Regions from separate parts of the Homo sapiens genome. Here region 1 is linked to region 2. The links are contacts of gene promoters, found by promoter capture Hi-C in human tissues and cell types (Jung and others, 2019). All regions are on one chromosome and are shown on one strand. The core of a region is centred on a gene start or on the middle of the fragment in contact, and the rest is flanking DNA. Distances in the headings are between cores, read along the strand shown.

Region 1 (3,132 bases), core at 237-2,736, 43 kb before region 2:
GGCCAGGCTGGTCTCAAACTCCTGACCTCAGATGATCTGCCTGCCTCAGTCTCCCAAAGTGTTGGGATTACAGGTGTGAGCCACCATGTGCAGTGGTGCAGTCAGCTCACTGCAACCTCCACCTCCTGGGTTCAAGCGATTCTCCTGCCTCAGACTCCCAAGTAGCTGGGATTACAGGCGCCCACCACCATGCCCAGCTAATTTTTTGTATTTTTATTAGAGATGGGGTTTGCCATCTTGGCCAGGCTGGTCTCAAACTCCTGACCTCGTGATCTGCCCACCTCAGCCTCCCAAAGCGCTAGGATTACAGGCATGAGCTACCACGCCCAGCCAGAAAAAGTTTTTAAGCAGGGAAGTGCCAGGTGCAGTGGCTCCTACCTGTAATCCCAACACTTTGGGAAGCCAAGGCAGGAAGATCCCTTGAGCCCAGGAGTTTCAGACCAGCCTGGGCAACATGAGACCCTGTCTTTACAAAAAACATTTAAAAATTAGCCAGGTAGGGTGGCGCTCGCAGTTACTCAGGAAGCTGAGGTGGGAGGGTCGTTTGAGCCCGGGAGGTCAAGGCTGCAGTAAGCCGTGATTGCGCCACTGCATTCCAGCCTGGGTGAGAACAAGACCCTGTCTCAAAAAATAAAAAATAAATTTAAAAGGCAGGGAAAGGGCTGGGCATGGTGGCTCACACCTGTAATCCCAGCACTTTGGGAGGCCGAGGTGGGCGGATCACAAGGTCAGGAGATCGAGACCATCCTGGCTAACACGGTGAAACCCTGTCTCTACTAAAAAATAGAAAACAAAACAGACAAAAAAAAAAATACAGGCATGGTGGCGGGCGCCTGTAGTCCCAGCTACACTGGAGGCTGAAGCAGGAGAATGGCATGAACCCAGGAGGCGGAGCTCGCAGTGAGCCGAGATCGCGCCACTGCACTCCAGCCTGGGCGACAAAGCAAGTGCAGAGGCATGGAGGGGTGAGTGAGTGAAGGCAGCCAGTGCCAGTCGGACAGGCTGTTACAGGGTCTTATGTGCCCTGGGAAGTTCTCCTCAGACCCTTGGCCCTTTTCAGACCACCTTTATTTACTGATCTCTGTGTCCTACCTCTCTGTAAAGGCAGTGAGGTTGAGAATGAAGGCTTCCTGAGGGCACATATTTTCCTATGTTTTGTTCACTGTTCTCTTTCCAGCACTTAGAACAAGAACAGTACCAGGCACAGAGCAGGTGTTCAAGTATTTGATGAATTGAATGCATGTACAAACCTAGTGAAAAAGAAGTGGCTTTAGAAACTAAGACTTTCAATTCTGACTCCACCCCTTCCCAGAGGTAGGAGCTTGGGTAAATCAACGAGCTCTTTTCCTGACTCAAGCCTGTAATCTCAGCACTTTGGGAGGCCAAGGTGTGAAGATCACTTGAGGCCAGGAGTTCAAGACCAGCCTGGGAAATATAGTGAGACCCCCCGGTCTCTACAAAAAAATTTAATAACAAAAATTAGCCGAGCGTGGTGGTGTACACCTGTAGTCTTAGCTACTCAGGAGGACGAGGCGAGAGAATTGCTTGGGCCCAAGGGTTCAAGGCTGCAGTGAGCTAAGAAGGTGTTACTGCACTTCAGCCTGGGCAACAGAGTGAGACCTTGTCTTTAAGAAAATAAAATAGAGACAGATCTACTTTAAAGAGTGTTGTCATGGGGATTAAGATAATCCCACAATGCCCCCAGCATGGCTCCTGAGTAAACTAAGCACACATCCTCCCTTCTACTTCCATCAACACCCCAGGCTAGAAGGGCTGGGCCTCACATACCTTCTCCAGATGCACAGTCACCACCTTGCCGTCCTCAATGAGCCACGAGCTCTCCTCCACCTTCACTTCATTGTAGAGCTCCCCATCAATGATCGCTGGCTGCCCCTTGAGCCCCACCCGGAGGTGCCGCCGCTGGATGTCCACCACCATGTCCTTCCCTTTCAGCCGGAAGTTCACACAGAAAGGGACCGCCAGCTGCATAGGGCAGAGGCAGTCAGAAGAGGCCACTAAGTGCTGCTGGTACCCCAGGCTGGCCCCCTAAGCTTTACCTCTGGTCCCTGACACTCACGTCCAGCTCCGACAGGGTCTGGGTCCAGCGGTAATTGGGCAGGTCTGCCCCGTTGCCTAGGTTGGGCTTCAGTTTTCCTTTGTCCTTCTCATCTTCCTCCTCATCTTCCTCAGTATCCTGCTTACAATCAGGGACACTCAGCTACTTACTTGACAGACAAGACACAGATTGAACCCTCACTGGGCCAAGCCCAGGGCTAGCACTGGGCATACAGCCACAAAAGAAAACAGACCTGGTCCCTGCCCACTCCACAGAGGGGCAGACCCCCAAGCCTTGGTCCACTGGGAACCAGGTAAAACTTGGTTCTGATCTCAGTCTGAGAGGAGCTCAGACTATTAATATTATACCATGTGACAAAGGATATGGCTGGGCCCACAGAACCCAGCCAACCTCAGATGGGACCTGTAATAGGCACTGCCCTCTCTGGCTATTGGGTTTTCTTGCCATAAACAGGTTAAGGTCAGTCGGTTTTTATTTTATTTTTTTGGGACGGAGTCTTGCTCTGTCGCCCAGGCTGGAGTGCAGTGGCGTGATCTCGGCTCATGGCAACCTCCGCCTCCCGGGTTCAAGCAATTCTCTGCCTCAGCCTCCCGAGTAGCTGGGATTACGGGCGCCCACCACCATGCCTGGCTAATTTTTGTATTTTTAGTAGAGATGGGGTTTCACCATCTTGGCCAAGTTGGTCTTGAACTCCAGACCTCGTGATTTACCCACCTCGGCCTCCCAAAGTGCTGGGATTACAGGTGTGAGCCACTGCGCCTGGCAGGTTTTTATTTTTTTAACCTGGATCCTTTGGTTCAATGTCTCTGAGTGTGATCTTAAAGTATGGGGAAGATTCCCAAAGCCAGGAGGGGAGGGGATAGGATAAGGAAGGGTATTCCAGAGAAAGCAGTAGGCAGGAGATTTCCTGTAAGTTCCAAGCTCCTGGCTCATCCCAAGTCCCTGCAGTCCATCTCACCTGCTTCCCTGGGGAGTCAAGGCTGCCGTTCTTGAGCTGGGCCTCATGATTCTCTGCATCCTTTTTCTGGGGCAAAGAGCACAGCAGTTGGCAACAG
Region 2 (3,594 bases), core at 394-2,893:
GTTTTTTTGCAATATGCTGTGTTCCAGAACACAAAACAGTGGGAAGGCATTTCTTAAGCCTTAGTTTTCCAGGATCACAGGGCTTGGGTAAAAGTCAACATTATCAATAAGTCTTCTGATAAACATGTGCAGTCATTTTTTTTATTGTTTAGACAAGGGTCTTGCCAACTTGGCCAGGCTGGTCTCAAACTTCTAAGCTCAAGGGATCCTCCTACACCAGCTTGCCAAAGTGCTGGGATTACAGGCGTGAACCACTGAGCTTGGCCCTTTATTTTTTGCTTTTGTTTGAGGTCTCTCAATCTACAGGTTCCTCCTATCACCCAGTATAATGTGTAGACTTTGTCTGAATTATGAATCAATGAATCAATAGTAATCAAATAACCCAATTAAAAAACGTACAAAGAGGGCCGGGTGCGGTGGCTTACATCTGTAATCTCAGCACTTTGGGAGGCCAAGGCGGGTGGATCACCTGAGGTCAGGAGTTCGAGACCAGCCTGACCAATATGGTGAAACCCCGTCTCTACTAAAAATACAAAAATTAGCCGGGCGTGGTGGCACGCACCTGTAGTCCCAGCTACTCGGGAGGCTGAGACAGGAGAATTGCTTGAACCCGGGAGGCGGAGGTTGCAGTGAGCCGAGATCGCACCATTGCACTCCAGCCTGGATGACAGAGCGAGGCTCCATCTCAAAAAAAAAAAAAAAAAAAAAAAAAGACAAAAAGGCGGGGACCGTGGCTCACACCTGTAATCCTAACACTTTGGGAGGCTGAGGCCAGTGGATCACTTGAGCCCTGGAGTTCAATACCAGCCTGGGCAATGCAGTGAGACCCCATCTCTACAAATAGTTTAAAAAATTAGCCAGGCATAGTGGGTTGCATCTGTGGTCCCAGCACTCCAGCCTGGGCGACAGAGCGAGACCCCAACTCAAAAATAAATAAAATATTACCTACAAGTGCTGAGTCAAATGATGTGTAGCTTTGCTTTTACTAGATAACGCCAATTGTTTCCCAAAGTGGTTGTATCAACTTACATTTCCACCAACAGTGTATGAGAGCTTCAGTTCCACCATGTTGTCATCGACTCTAAGGTTTTAAAGTTTGCCAACATAGTGGATGCAAAGTGGGTCTCGCTGCATTTCTTTTATTATTGAGTTGTGCATCTTTTCTTTAACGTAAGCCTCTAGTAACTCATAGCACTTTCATTGTAAATTGGACCTGCGTGTTTCCTCTTTTGCGAAGTATCTTCGGCCCATTTTTCTACCGGGTTATCTTTTTCTTACCGATTTGTGGGAGTTCATCAACACATTTTGGAAAAATAAATGGAAGAACGACTAAAGGTTCAGAACTGAGGAAGGTTGAGATTAGGTGTGCAATATCCACAACTAAATACCTCAAAAATGACCCCTCCCGCAGGCTTCTTATTTGGTCCTCATGAGAGCTTTATGAAAGAACTCTATGACCCCATTTTCCAGGTGAGTTTTTCCATCATCGCCGGCTTCCCTCTGTGGGAAAGGAACACAGAAGACTTCGGATCTTCCAGCTCCAGGTTCCACAACCCCAATCCCAAAGGACTAGTTAGAATTTTCACAATCTCGCAACGCAGGGGCTGGAACGTTGCTCGCGGTGTTCTCGCGAGACTTGGTTCTAGCTGATCATGTGACAATCCAAGATGGCGGTGCCCGGCGAGGCGGAGGAGGAGGCGACAGTTTACCTGGTAGTGAGCGGTATCCCCTCCGTGTTGCGCTCGGCCCATTTACGGAGCTATTTTAGCCAGTTCCGAGAAGAGCGCGGCGGTGGCTTCCTCTGTTTCCACTACCGGCATCGGCCTGAGCGGGCCCCTCCGCAGGCCGCTCCTAACTCTGCCCTAATTCCTACCGACCCAGCCGCTGAGGGCCAGCTTCTCTCTCAGACTTCGGCCACCGATGTCCGGCCTCTCTCCACTCGAGACTCTACTCCAATCCAGACCCGCACCTGCTGCTGCGTCATCTCGGTAAGGGGGTTGGCTCAAGCTCAGAGGCTTATTCGCATGTACTCGGGCCGCCGGTGGCTGGATTCTCACGGGACTTGGCTACCGGGTCGCTGTCTCATCCGCAGACTTCGGCTACCTACGGAGGCATCAGGTAAGAGTGAGAAAGTTAATAGACTGGGCCTACGGGCCTGGAACAGAGGCACCTTTTCAGAGGAGTGGTGAGGATAAGTCAGGCCTCTGGTTAGGACTCTATGAGTTTAGTTCATATTCTAGACAGAGCTTCAGGCTCAACTTGCAGGGAGTTAGTCCAATACATGGAGAAAAATAAACCGGAGAGGCTTATTCGGAAGAGCCTTCATTTTGTTAGGTCCCTTTTGAGACCCTTTCTCTATCCAAGGGGTTGATTTTGCACTAACACAGAAAGAAAAAAGGAAATCCAGTCTCTAACCCTTTTACTGTCTTTCTCTCCTGCTCTCTCTGTGCTTCCTACCCAGTCCTTTCAGTAAGATACAAATGAAGAGACAATCTTTTCTCTGGACAGCTCCCACTTTCATGGGAAATCAGTTTGATGGGGAAACAGGACAGTGCAGAGCCCTCCAGTTCACACATTCAACAAATGCTTACATTGCTAGACCTAGTGTGACTAGCTGGGTATGCAGAGAACAGTTGGACATAGTGTGTGCTCAGAATCCACAAAGGAAGACATTTGGAAAAAGGTTATTGCCACAGAGATGTCATTCTAATTGTTAGCATTCACTGAGCACTCTGTATTTAGTAGGCGCTGTTCTAAGCCTTTTGTTTTCTTACCCCTCTCAACAGTCCTATGAGATAGGAGCTGTTGTTTCTCCCATTTCATAGGTGAAGAAACTGAGGGAAGCCGAAGTTATGTGACTTGCCTGAGGTTACAGAGTTAGTTAGTGTCAGAGCTACAACAAACCTAGGCATCTGTTCCAGAGCCTATACTGTTTATCACCAAGTGCTGTGAGATGACAGAGAAGGGAGAAACTAACTTCCTAGATGGATCATGAAATGTGGCTTTCCATCTGGGTCTTGAAAAATAAATAGGAGTTAATAGGAGAGAATGGTGTTTCTGGGTTTCAGGGTAAATGGCGTTTGCAAAGACACAGCTTTGAAAGCCCGTGAAAAACTTTCAGGGCATGTTAAATTGTTCATTGTGGGCTGGGTTGCAATGGCTCGTGCCTGTAATCCCAGCACTTTGGGAGGCACAGGTGGGTGGATCTCTTGAGCTCAGGAGTTCCATACCAGCCTGGGCAACATGGTGAAACCCTGTCTCTACCAAAAATACAAATTAGCCGGTTGTGGTGGCGCATGCCTGTAGTCCCAGCTACTTGTGAGGTTGAGGTGGGGGGATCACTTGAGCCCAGGAGGTGGAGGTTGCAATGAGTCAAGATCGCGCCACTGTACTCCAGCCTGGGTGACAGAACGAGACCCCATCTCAAAAAAAAAAAAAGAAGAAAAAAAAGAAATTAGGAGAAAAATTGTTTGGTGTGGCTGGAACACATCGTATGAAGACATGCAGGAGGTGGGAGTTGGTGACAGCCGAGAATCAAAAGGTCATCAGGTGGGTAGATATCACTTGAGGCCAGGACCAGCCTGGACAACATGG

What was found. Contacts are between HindIII fragments. The study calls those that stand out against the background at their distance.
Region 1: a contact is called between a fragment that was not itself captured here and the fragment with the promoter of GPATCH3 in region 2, in 1 of the 25 tissues and cell types used here (thymus).

Annotation. Positions count from the first base shown.
Region 1 is chr1:26,941,722-26,944,853 of GRCh38, reverse strand. It overlaps NUDC (nuclear distribution C, dynein complex regulator), which reads right to left. Exons shown (of 9, transcript NM_006600.4): 4 at 3,036-3,101; 5 at 2,078-2,194; 6 at 1,789-1,983. Among named protein-coding and RNA genes, the nearest start is that of KDF1, 17 kb to the left of the region's middle. The HindIII fragment of the contact is 5,756 bases long and covers 1-3,132 here.
Region 2 is chr1:26,898,516-26,902,109 of GRCh38, reverse strand. It overlaps GPATCH3 (G-patch domain containing 3), which reads left to right and starts at 1,643. Exons shown (of 7, transcript NM_022078.3): 1 at 1,643-2,118. The coding sequence starts at 1,668. It also overlaps a transcript of NUDC not described here. RefSeq lists an enhancer at 1,579-1,698. The HindIII fragment of the contact is 3,671 bases long and covers 1-3,035 here.